2 separate regions of the Homo sapiens genome follow, and region 1 is linked to region 2. Evidence: promoter capture Hi-C in human tissues and cell types (Jung and others, 2019). All regions are on one chromosome and are shown on one strand. The core of a region is centred on a gene start or on the middle of the fragment in contact, and the rest is flanking DNA. Distances in the headings are between cores, read along the strand shown. Region 1 overlaps GRK4 (G protein-coupled receptor kinase 4). Region 2 holds the start of ADD1 (adducin 1).

Evidence for each region. The method cuts DNA at HindIII sites, captures the fragments that hold promoters and counts their contacts. A contact is called where the count stands out against the background at its distance.
Region 1: a contact is called between a fragment that was not itself captured here and the fragment with the promoter of ADD1 in region 2, in 2 of the 25 tissues and cell types used here (hippocampus and pancreas).

Annotation. Positions count from the first base shown.
Region 1 is chr4:2,977,873-2,984,583 of GRCh38, reverse strand. GRK4 (G protein-coupled receptor kinase 4) reads right to left here. Exons shown (of 16, transcript NM_182982.3): 2 at 1-71. Among named protein-coding and RNA genes, the nearest start is that of GRK4, 18 kb to the right of the region's middle. The HindIII fragment of the contact is 3,818 bases long and covers 3,216-6,711 here.
Region 2 is chr4:2,841,537-2,847,949 of GRCh38, reverse strand. It overlaps ADD1 (adducin 1), which reads right to left and starts at 4,106. Exons shown (of 16, transcript NM_001354761.2): 1 at 3,926-4,106. RefSeq lists silencers at 3,645-3,794, 3,915-4,104, 4,165-4,544, 4,645-4,694 and an enhancer at 4,823-5,334. The HindIII fragment of the contact is 4,953 bases long and covers 474-5,426 here.

The sequences.
Region 1 (6,711 bases), core at 3,875-6,374, 140 kb before region 2:
CTGGCTGACAGGAGGCAGTGTCAGTATCTCCTTCCATTTTTTACTACGACCACTTTTTTTGCCATATCCTCCTGAATTTGGGAGAAAAAAGGCAATTTCCTTTAACAGTCAGAAATATCCAATTATAACAACTACTTCCACCAATATATCTTAACATTTCTGTTTGAGTGGTTTGGGTACCTATCATGAATAAAAATACATGCTTATAATAATTTGTCTTATCTGGAAAGCTGCTTGATGAAGTATAAAATTCCCAAGGGAAGCAATCTGTCACTAGCTCTGCCATTTAGAAGCCATGGTGAGCCTCAGTTTCCAAATCTGTAAACAAGATCTAACATGACATATTGTTCAGGGCTGCTTATAAGTATTTATCAAAGAAATATTTATTGAGCATCTACTATGTACCAAAAACCTTCAAAGCACTAGGCATATGATGGTAAAAAAGACCAAGTCCCTCCCTCGCATTCTAAGTGAGGGAGTGATATGGTTTGGCTCTGTGTCCCCACCCAAATCTCATCTCAAATTATAATACCCACATGTCGAGGGAGGGACCAGGTGGGAGTCCCGTGATTGGATCGTGGGGACGGATTCCCCATGCTGTCCTGCGATAATGAGGGAGTTCTCATGAGATCTGATGGTTTTAAAAGTGGCAGTTTCCCTTGTGCTCTCTCTCCCCCTCTCTCTCTCCTGCCACCATGTAAGACGTGCCTTGCTTCCCCTTCGCTTTTCACCATGATTGTAAGTTTCCTGAGGCCCCTCTAGCCATGCAGAACTGTGAGTCAATTAAACCTCTTTTATTTATAAATTACCCAGTCTCAGGTAGTATCTTCACAGCAGTGTGAAAATGGACTAATACAGGGAGACAGGTGCACAAATCAGATAATGATAAGAGATAAGAAAAAAATGCTAATCATATAGTGATAAATATGAAACAAAATCAAGCAGGGTAAAGGTGGAAGGTGCTGTTTTGACTAAGGTAGGATCAGAGAAGACCTCCCTACAGGGGTCACATTTAGGCAGAGGCCTGAAGGATGTGAGTGGCAGAGTCTTGGCAAGTGCTGGGAGAAGAGCATCCCATGGTGAAACCAGAATGATGGAAAAGGCTACACTATAATACTTCAGAAAGATCTTTTAAACAAGCACCATTTTTTCTTTAATTCAACTCAGAGAAATGAGCATCTTCAATCTCAAGCCTTCTGGGCAGCTAAAATTTTACTGAATTTTATCCAGGAGAACATAATGGCTTAGGCTGGGTGACTAAGACTCCAGGACCATTTGGAAGAATTAGGAAACCAGGGCAAAAGCCACATTTCCTTGGAACACGATGAGCTCTGTCTTAAATACGGTGAGTGTGGAAAATTGTAAGAGACAGACATTTGGAAGATGGGTAGACTGGGATGAGCTCAGAAGAGGCTCGGCTAGAGATACAGACTTGATATCTGCAAAAAAGAAAACCATCAAAGATGTAAGAGCTTCTTCCTCAGCCTTAGTTTTGCTCTTCTACTCCCCCTACTCAATATTTCAACTGAGATCATGAGCTCTGGACTCACGTCCCACACCACAAGATGTCCAGAGCACCTGGCATTCAACATGTTCACCCTAGACTCATAATCTTCCCCCTCAAATCCAGTCCACATTTTTTCTTTCTGTTAAGATTTGTTTATTTAATAAACATGTAACAACCACCTGCCAATGCCAGAGAATATGTCAAGTGCTGTGTCAGTGACAGCCATGTCCTATGTCACTGAAGGGTGGGGAAAGGGTGACCTGTTCCTCCTGTCCCTTCACAGAGAACACAGAAACTCATTCCAGAGAAGCAGTAGGCACTGAAAAAAGGCTATCATCTTTGGTTATGGGTTATTTTTTTCAGGGTTATTGCTGGTTCTCCCTTCAGTTGAAATAAGAACTGTTCTTTGGGATATGCCATTTTTATCTGACCTCTTAAAGGAGTACAGAGCTGAGCTGTCACTTGCCTGATGCAGTATTTTGCCCTCTAGATTCCACAAGTGGAAAACAAGCATGATCTACAAGTGCCCTGAGACATGGCTTACATCTTCAGTGGTGCTTCTGTGCCCAAGCTGCTGAATCATTGAGCAGAGAACAAGTCCCTCTTGGTCTTATTCATATTTCACTATCTCTGCTTTCTCTTGTTCCCTGGCTTCTCCCAACTTTACACTACTCAAGTAACTAGCAAGAAACATGGCAGCCTGGCTGCTATGTCCTTCCTTTCCTAAGCCTGACACTGCCTGTAGGCTTAGAACCAGTGCTTCCACCTTCCCAGGATCCAAGCAGCGAGGCAGGCAGGGCCTGGATGAGGTGGTGCTGGCAGCAGTGGCCAGTGCCGGCGGAAGCCAGGAACAGGTGGGAGCCCTACCCCCTTCCAGGTTGGTGGGGCAGGAGCCCCACACTACTGGGAGCAGCTGCAGCCACCCAGCCACAGCTGCTGACCTGGGCATCCCTGTGCTCTCAGGAGCCCAGGAAGCCCCCCTGCCCCTGCAGGCTCAGAAGTGCCTGTTCCCACTGACTGGCCTCTCACTGCTCCTGGCACCTGCTCCGATTTTGGATCAAAGTTGTGGCTGAGCCCAGGCACTGTCACAACCCAGCCAGGTGTGTGCACGATAGGGGCGGTGCTGACACACCAGCCACCTGCCACCTCAGCCCCCTCCAGACTTTGGACACCAATGAGCATGGCAGGGAGGCCAAGGCGTGGCTGAGTTCAGCTCAGTGCAGGCCAGGGCACACAAACAGCCAGGGCACCATGAACAAGGGCAGGAGGCAGACAGGCTCCTGGGTAGAAAGGGGCAGGGTCCCCAGTGAAACCTCACCTTCAAGCCAGGGATAGACTGAAGCCTGACAGCCGGGCTGCCAGTTCTGCAGACTGGAGTGAGAACTTATGGTGGTTTTTCTGGGCCCGCCCACGGACCAATCAGCATGTACTTCCTCCCCTCTGAAGCTTATAAAAACCCCAGACTCAGCCAGACTTGGGCAGAAAACAGGACAACCTGCCTGCAGAGAGGTGCTACCCACTGTGGGTCTCCTTTCCACTGAGGGCTGTATACTCATCAGGACAACCTGCCTGCAGATAGGAGCTACCCACTCCAGGTCTCCTCTCCTCTGAGGGCTGCACAGACGATGGGATGATCTGCCTGCAGAAAGGAGCTACCCATTTTGGGTCTCCTGAGAGCTGTACTGTCACTCAATAAAGCACCTCTTCTTGCTTACCCTCCAGTTGTCTGTGTACCTCATTCTTCCTGGACATGGGACAAGAACTTGGGACCCACTGAATGGTGGGACTGAAAGAGCTGTAATACAAACAGGCTGAAGCACACCCCCCAACTCACCACGTTGTGGGTGATGAGAAGGAGAGAAGAGAGGAGATAAGAGCTGTGGCCCCTTGGGGAGCCGAGACTTAGGACCTCCCCCAGCCAAGGCTGTGACACCCTCTTTGAAGCTCTGTGGTTCCTGAAGTCTCCAAGCTTCTGGGCGCCACCGCATTCCCTGGCACCCACAGTGGCAGCTGCTTGCAGTACGCTTGGTCTAGCCACAGCCACAGCAGGTAACCAGCGCCTGTGCCTGGAGCTGCCTGCCCTGCCACAGCTGGCATGCCTGGCTGTGCCCAATGGCCAGACCCCACACTCATTTGCTCATGCAACCCTTGCTGCTCTGCACCTGGCTTGCCCTTGGCAGGCATGGGATCTGGACCAGTAGTGAAAGACAAGCACAGCCTGCCAGGCCAAGTGGGTGGAAGGAGCCCAGTGGGCCCAAGCAAAACTCAGGTAAAGCCGCCACTGGCCACAGAAGTCTCCAGCTGGTGAAGTGACACCCTAAGGATCCTGTGACAGTGGCACAGCCGCTCAGCCCCAGTGGGTTTGTGTTCACGGGTATGTGGCACTGACGGTGGGGTAGGGTGGCAACAAGAGGTAGGCTGGATGCATTACCCAGGACTAGCCTGTCAGGCAAGAGGTGAGCTGTTCTGCTCCTCACAGATGGGCCCAAGGAAGACAAGGCTTCCAGTGAGTCCCTGTGCCTCATCTAGGTGCTGTTCTGGGGTATTTGCACATTGAGATCTCAGCATCTAGTAGGCTTGTTGTGGAGATTAAATAGGATAACTTGTATAGAAAGGTACCAGGCCCATGAGTGGGGTTCAGTGTTCCTTCCCTTCCCCTTTAGGGTATGTTTCCTACATCGACAGAAGATTCCCACTGAAGACTGGTTCCCGGGTTCCCATCTTGGATGATGAGGGAAACAAGTCAAGGTGCTAGGCTTTCCTCTTCATCCTGGCTGCTGCCACTCCCAGCCAGCTCCAGGCAGTGAAGGCTCCAGGGAGGCTGGGTGGCCATGGCAGCCCCAGTCATCCTTCCATACTGTGAATCCTGGCTAACAAATTATTTATTGAGAAGACATCTGCTGTCCATGTCCAGTGTGCCAGGCACTGTCCAGGCTCTGGGTACCCTGTGGAGGGTCAGGCAGCTGGTCCTAACAGGATGAAAGCACTCTTGTCAGACCCAAAGAAACTTGGAGCTGGGAAGGCACAAAGAAGGGTTCTTGCTTACATGTCTGAGATAAGAACCATTAGGAGGAGTGTCTAAAATAACCCCACAAGAAATTCTTTCACATCCTTCATGCATTTCATGCTTTTCACAACCTACATTTGGCACATATGCAGGTATTTCTGAGACCAGGTACACTGGACCATTTTTTTTCTTTTTTGAGATAGGGTCTTGCTCTGTCACCCAGGCTAGAATGCAGAATGCAAGTCTCACTGCAGCCTTGACTTCCTGGACTCAAGAGATCCAGCTACCTCAGCCTCCTCAGCAGCTGGGACCACAAGCATGCACCACCACACATGGATTTTTTTTGGGGGGGTAGGGGGACGGAGTTTCACTCTTGTTGCCCAGGCTGGAGTGCAATGGTGTGATCTTGGCTCACCACAACCTCCGCCTACTGGGTTCAAGCAATTCTCCTGGCTCAGCCTCCTGAGTAGCTGGGATTACAGGCATGTGCCACCACGCCCGGCTAATTTTGTATCTTTAGTAGAGACAGGGTTTCTCCATGTTGGTCAGGCTGGTCTCGAACTCCTGACCTCAGGTGATCCGCCCGCCTCGGCCTCCCCAAAGTGCTGGGATTACAGGCGTGAGCCACCGTGCCTGGCCACTCTTTTTTTTTTTTTTTTTTTTTTTGAGACAGAGTCTCCCTCTGTCACTCAGGTTGGAGTGCAGTGGCACCATCTCAGATGATTGCAACCTCCACCTCCTGGGTTCAGGTGATTCTCCCACTTTAGCCTCCAGAATAGCTGGGATTGCAGGCGCCTGCCACCACACCCAGGTAATTTGTGGGGTTTTTTTTTGTTTTTTTTTTTGAGACGGAGTCTCGTTCTGTTGCCCAGGCTGGAGTGCAATGGCGCGATCTCGGCTCACTGCAAGCTCCACCTCCTGGGTTCACACCATTCTCCTGCCTCAGCCTCCCAAGTAGGTGGGACTATAGGCGCCCATCACCATGCCTGGCTAATTTTTTTGTATTTACAGACGGTGTTTCACCACGTTAACCAGGATGGTCTCGATCTCCTGACCTCATGATCCGCCTGCCTTGGCCTCCCAAAGTGCTGGGATCACAGGCGTGAGTCACCGTGCCCAGCCTAATTTGTGTATTTTCAGTAAGAGACGGGGTTTCAGCATGTGGGCCAGGCTGGTCTCGAACTCCTGAACTCAGGAGATCCGCCCACCTCGGCCTCCCAAAGTGCTGGGATTACAGGCATGAGCCACTGTGCCTGGCCACACATGGCTATTTTTTTAAAAAGCTTTTGTAGAGAAGAGATCTTGCCATGTTGCCCAAGCTAGTCTCAGACCCCTGGGCCCAATCGACCCTCCTGCCTCAGCCTCTCAAACAACTGGGATTACAAGCATGAGCCACCTTGCCTGGCCTGGACTTTTTTTAGGACGGCAGCAATTGAGATAAGATGCTCTTGAAAGAACACCTGCCCCCTAGTGGCATCTCCACCACAGAACTGATGCCAACTACGATTTTGAGCCTCTGGAACCAGTGAACTCTGTTTCCAAGCAGCTTATGTGAACCTCTCCCTGTCTGCCAAATAAAAGCTTCCTCTTCCTTTCCCCTTTTCGGGTGCACCTGTGGCTCGCCATGGCTGTGCATCCCAAATTATAATCCTCTTTGCTTACTCCCTAATTCATTCATTAAATTCAGAGATATTTTTCTCTGATATCTTTTTTTAGATTGACAATAGAATCGATTAGCTCAATTACAGAATCCTATCAGACCAAGTTTTTAAAAGATTCTTAAAAACTTAGCATATTATCAATTAGCTTAATGTGTGAAGCCACAGTCTATGAGATAACCAAGAACCTTCTACATAAAGTAATTTTAAAGATGAAAGTTGTTTTCCCTTTTTCTTCCCACTCAATATGGATCTTTAGGATAGATTAATACAGCAACTGACTTTTAGGAATTTCTATAAAACCTAGTTTATTCTCAATTTTAGCTGTAAAAAAGAAGGAAAATATTTTATTGTCAAAAGAGATATAGTCAGGGCACCAAAGGCTCATGTTACAAAAGAAAAAATAGGCAAAATGAACTTCATAAGCCCATGGAATGGGGGAAAACATTTGCACATTATATACCTGATAAGGGATGAGTAATCAGAATATATAGTGAACTCCTAATAGTCACAACAGAGCTGCTGCTGGGAAGTGGCAG
Region 2 (6,413 bases), core at 2,857-5,356:
AGCCACCATGCCCAGCCTTGCCTCCCACTCTATTCAAAGTCATCCCTTTGCTCACTGAGATAGATGCATATCTGGTTGCCTCCTTAGGAAAGGCTTATCAGAAACTCAAAAGAAGGCAACCATTTGTCTCTCACCTACTTGTGACCTGGAAGCTCCCTCCCTGCTTCAAGCTGTCCCCGCCGTTCTGGACTGAACCAATGTACTTCTAGCATATATTGATTGATGTCTCATGTCTCCTTAAAATGTATAAAACCAAGCTGTGCCCAACCACCTTGGGCACATGTCAATCAGGACTTCTGGAGGCTGTGTCACAGGCACACATTCTCAACACTAGCAAAATAAACTTTCTAAGTTAACCGAGACCTGTCTCAAATTTTCGAGGTTCACGTGTTCATCTTGTTCTGAGACTGAAATGTGTACGGTGTGGGTTGAAACAGTGAGCAAGTAGAACCAAAATGTTTGGCTTAGAAGAAAAGTAGATACAGGTATATAAAAATGAGAAGGTTGAGTAGAATCCTAGTCTTACTTCCTTTTTTTTTTTGAGACGGAGTTTCGCTTTTGTTGCCCAGAATGGAGTGCAATGGCACTGCGACCTCCGCCTCCTGGGTTCAAGCGATTCTCCTGCCTCAGCCTCCCTAGTAGTGGGGATTACAGGCATGCACCACCATGCCCAGCTAATTTTTGTATTTTTAGTAGAGATGAGGTTTCACTGTTGTCCAGGCTGGTCTCAAACTCCTGACCTCAGGCGATCCACCTGCCTCAGCCTCCCAAAGTGCCGGGATTGTGAGCGACCGCACCTAGCTTGTTTTTTGTTTTTGTTTTTGTTTTTTTGAGACGGAGTCTCGCTCCGTGTCGCCCAGGCTACAGTGCAACGGAGCGATCTCCACTCACTGCAAGCTCCGCCTCCCGGGTTCACGCCATTCTCCTGCCTCAGCCTCCCGAGTAGCTGGGACTACAGGCATCCGCCACCACGCCCAGCTAATTTTTTGCGTTTTTAGTAGAGACGGGATTTCACCATGTTAGCCAGGATGGTCTCGATCTCCTGACCTCATGATCCGCCCGCCTCGGCCTCCCAAAGTGCTGGGATTACAGGTGTGAGCCACCACGCTCGGCTTTTTTTTTTTTTTTTTTTTAAAGAGACAGAGTAGTGCAGTGAAGTGATCATGGCTCACTGTAGCCTCGACCTCCCAGGCTCACAGGTTCGTACCATCTTAGCCTCAGGAGCAGCTACGATTACAGGCCCATCCTAGCATGCCCAGCTTCATTGGCTACTTTTGAAGGATATTAGCGAAACAATTCATTATGTGAAACCTAGTAAATAATGGAGAAGAATTAAGCATTTATCCTCCCTTTTCTGTAAGAGATACCTCAAGATAACCAAATAGTGGAGGCATGAAAAATTATCTTTATAAAAATATTCTATTTAATAAAAGAAGTTATAGAATTCAAATATCAATATATTCAATGCTTGCTGAAATGACTGTAGGCACTGACAATCAAGGGCTGCGAACAAAGACTACTAATCATTTCTGCCTACTTACCTAAGAAGTTTGCTTGACAAAAGTAAAGCTGAATCTGATCATACCTTTAGATCTAACCACCAGTTTTCAGTAAATTCTGTGAAACTATGCCACAGAGTAAAATTGAGACTGTGCATAACTCCACATGACAAACTACCAGGTTTCATCCATAAATAAATTACAAGAGAAAACTAAATATGGAGGGGAAACTATCAATTAAAATGAGTCACACTGTATAGATAGCATGTGGATCGATTGAAATTGTTAAGAAAAAAAATGAGAATTCTGACAATTTTAACACTGGCTGGATATTTGAAAGTATTAAGGAATTATTCATTTTCTGTGATAGTGGTACTCATGTTTACCTTTTGTTTAAGTCTTTAAGATATACATATTGAACTATTTAACGGTTAAAGGATATCTAGGACTGCGGGGATATGATGAAGCAAGATTGACTGTTGAAACTGGTTGAGAAAAGGGGTTTATACTATTCTCTCTACATATGTGTATATGTTAAGAGGTAAACATGGAAGGAAAGAAAGGAAGGGCAGTCAATCTAACTCTAAGTTTCAAGCAATAAGTAAATATTTTGTTATCTTTCAAAGCATTTCAGTATTTACTTTTCTTATTCAATTCAAAGACTATAAGAACTAAAAACTAAAAATCATGTAAATAAACAGTTTTTATGGCAAAATCAGTAACACAAAACTGAACACCAAACAAAACCTTCTCAGTATATCAGATAACATCAAAAGAATTAAGGGGAAAAATGACCAGCTTGTACGAAGTATATTTTAGAAGGAAAACTATCTCACAATTCGGGGACTGGCTAGAGTTTAGACTCACATCACTCAGCGACTCTCCGAAACTTTAAAACCTAAAGACACCACAAGTAGAAAACTAACAAATCATACCAGCTGTCCATACCATTGTAAACCACATCGAAACTCTGAAAAGCAGTTTTGACTGCCCAAATCATCCACTTCCTGAAAAGACAACTTTACTATTCTAGTTTTCTCCACTGTCAAAATCAAAGGAGTATATTAAAATTTTAACGTAGGCCAGGCGCGGTGGCTCACGCCTGTAATCCCAGCACTTTTGGAGGCCTAGGCGGACGGATCACGAGGTCAAGAGACTGAGACCATCCTGGCCAACATGGTGAAACCCCGTCTCTACTAAAAATACAAAAATTAGCTGGGCGTGGTGGCGCGCGCCTGTAGTCCCAGCTACTCGGGAGGCTGAGGTAGGAGAATTGCTTGAACCTGGGAGGCGGAGATTGCAGTGACTGGAGATCGCGCCACTGTACTCCAGCCTGGCGACAGAGCGAGACTCCGTCTCAAAAAAAAAAGGTATCATCGCGGGCCTTTGTCCATTCAAGGCTCCAAAGTTTACAAACTCACTTTCATACAATTCACACCCTCTGCCTGAAATGCCCTCCTCTCTCTGGTGCCTGTTGAACTCCTACTCATCCACTCCAAGCTTGTTTTCACTAGGCGCCTCTACTCATAGACACAGTCGACCTATCAGCATTCTATTTCCTATCCCCATTAAGATCTCAGTCAATTTTTCACACAAAAAATCTTTCTTTAACTTACCAGTAATGCATACAGCTATCAGCTATGTCTTTGGTCTTTGGAGATATGACAATTGCTTTTTGTCTTTCTAAACATAAATTATGCTCAAACCAACAACAGTTTCAGGCGAACCAAAATACGTTTTTCAAGGTGGGTATGCATAAAGTGAATGCAAATTACCTCCCAACTATCTTGAGCCATTACAAGAGCAAAGATAAAAGTCATCCTAACAGGGAAAGGCCCTCTGACATCTCCCAAAAAACGAAAATAAAAGATTAAGAAAAAAGAAAAGAGAGGGAGGGCAAAGGTGACCAACAGCCCCATCGCTGATAAAGTTCCACGATTATCTCTCGAGCGTCCGTCGGCAGATATGGCTTTTCTCTTTTGGCAGAAGCCGTCGTTTTTAAATACGAGAGCCGACAGATGCGTCCGTACACAAACCTTGCAGCCACCAGCGCTGCGGACCGCGGAACCGGTCTCACAAGCAGGATGCTGACCAGCGTCCAGCCAGGGTCGTCCTCCTCCGCCCCCACCCCTGCAGCCCACAAGCCGGCCAGGAACGAGCGGCCCGGGAAAAGCCTAGTCCCCGGGGTCCTATCCCGATGAAAGATCTGCGGCGCCCTCGCTCCCCGGCTCGGCCCAGGCCGAAGGCCCCGCGGGGACCCCTCCAAGACGCCCTCGGCGCCGCAGCGGCCTCCCCGCCCCCGAGGCTGCCCGGGCCGCCGCAGGCCCCGCGGCCCCCGCCCGCCGCAACCGCGGCCCAGTTCCCCGCGCCCCCGCCGCCGCCTCAGCCCGAACCGGGCCCCCGCCGCCCCCGCTAGCTAGCCTCACCTCAGAAGCGAATCGTGGGCAGCGCGCGGGATTCCGGGGTCCCAGTGCGGCCACCGCCCGTCGGCTCCGGCTCCGGCTCCGCCCCCGTCCCCTGGCCCGCAGCAGCGGCCCGCCAGGCCTCTCCGCCCCTCAGCCCCTCCGCTCGCCCCCACCGCCCGACCTGGGTGCGGCCTGCGGCGCTGCAGCCCAACAACGCGCCGTCCCATAGGCCAAGCCGCGCAGCACTGCCGAGCAACGTACCCTGCGATTGGCGGGACCCATGAGGGGCGGGTCCCCTGCGGGCAGGGCGATTGGACTCGCCAGGCCCGCCTCGGGGCGACCCCGCCGGGGCCTGCGGAGGCCCAGGGTCCCGCGCGGAGTACACCCCGGCCGGCAGCTTCGGGCGCCAGGTCATGGCTTCACGGTGGCCAGGTAGACTGCGGCGAGCCCCTGCCGGGTCCGCTGGACACGGTTTCATTGTGATTGACCTCCGCCGGAGGGGCTGTCGGAGCCCAGGGACCCTGCCCTCCCGCCGCCGCCCAGCGCACTCCCCCAGCAGACGGGCCCTGCCCCGCGTAGCCCCGCCTTGTGCAGTCCCCAGGCCGAGTTTTGGGGCCCGGGTGGGGTCAAGGCAGCAGGGCCTGTGGGCCCCGATAAGGCTCCACAGAGGACAACTGCCTGGCCCCCGGGCCCGGCCTGCGGGTGCTGAGGAGACCAGCGAGCACCAGCCACCTCCGCACGACCAGGGAGTGAGCCTGCGGGGCTTTGGCAGGACCAGCCTCAGACCAGCACCTTCCCGCACACTGTCCCTCCTGCTGGCGCATCTGACACCCAAAAAAACAAGCAGCGAGACAAATGGGCACGGCTGCTTGTCCTCTTGACACCCATAGAAAGCTTAGGTCCAGAGCTGGGCAGTGGCAGAAGAGTGTGGAATCCAGACCTCCCTGCTCAGCAGGAGCCTCTGTGACATTGCCCCAACAAGGGTCAGGGATACTGTCTGGATGGAAGCCAGCGACCCCTGTTCTAACCATTTCTGTTGGACGTTGGCTTTTCCAAGACGATTTTTCTGACAAGATCACAATTCTGTCTCATTCACTTCTGCTTCCCATAGTTAATCACTAGGGAAACGCAAATCAAAACCACTGTGGGATACCACTTAACATTCATTAGGATGGCAGTTGAAGAAGCAGGGAGTTGGGCGCAGTGGCTTCAGCCTAAAATCCCAGCACTTAGGGAGGCAGAAACAGGAGGATAGCCTGAGCCCAGGAGTTGGCAGACTTGACTGGACAACATAAGGAGACCCTGTTCTCTACAAAAACGAGAAGAAAACAAAAAGTTTCAAGGGGGGAGAAGGAGGAAGAAGAGGAAAAAAAGAAAATAAGTGTTGGCAAAGATGCGGAGAAATTGGAACCCTTTGTGCATCGCTGACGGGAATGTAAAATGGTGTGGCTGCTGTGGAAAACCGTAGAGTGGTTCCTCAAAAAATTAAACATAATTACCACATAATCCAGCAATTCCACTTCTGGATATATACCCCAAAGAAATGAAAACAGCTATTTGTACCATGTTCATAGCAGCATTATGCAGAGAAGGAAATTCTATTTATTGGGGTTTTGTGCCTTTTTTTTTTTTTTTTTTTTTTTTTTGGAGTCAGGGTCTCTGTCGCCCAGGCTGCAGTGCAGTGTTGCAACCATGGCTCACTGCAGCCTTGACCTCCTAGGCTCAAGGGATCCTCCTGCCTCAGCCTCCCAAGTAGCTGGGACTACCAGCACGTGCCAACATGCCTGGCTAATTTTTGTTATTTTTTGTAGAGACGGGATCTCACTATGTTGCCAGGGCTGGTCTCAAACTCCTAGGCTCAAGCAATCTTCCCAAATCCAAACTCAGCCTCCCAAAGTGCTGGGATTACAGGCATAAACCCATAAACCACGATGCCTGGCCAAAAGAAAGGAAATTCTGACGCATGCTACAACATGGATGAACACTGAAGACATGCTATGTGAAATAACCCAATCACAAAAAGATAAATGTATGATTCCACTTGTATGAGGTGTCTAGAGTAGTCAAATTCAGAGAGACAGGAGGTAGAATGGTGGTTGCAAAGGGCTGGAGGAATGGGGATTTAGTGTTTAATGGGTACAGAGTTTAAGCTTGGGGTGATGAAAAAGTTCTGGAGATGGATGGTGGTGATGACTGAACAATAATATGAATATTCGCAAAGCCACAGAACTGTACACTTTAAAATAATTAAAATGATAAACTTTATAATATGAAAATTTTATCATAATAAAACAATTTTAAAGCTATTAAAATATTCCTTCCTTTTCCAACTACAAAAAAGTAAAAAGGTCCAGGCGTGGTGGCTCTTGCCTGTAATCCTAGCAATTTGGGAGGCCAAGGCGGGAGGATTGCCTGAGCTCAGGAGTTAAGAGATCAACATGGACAACATGGCAGAACACTGTCTCTACTAAAAATACAAGAAATTAGCTGGGTCTGGTGGCAGGCACCT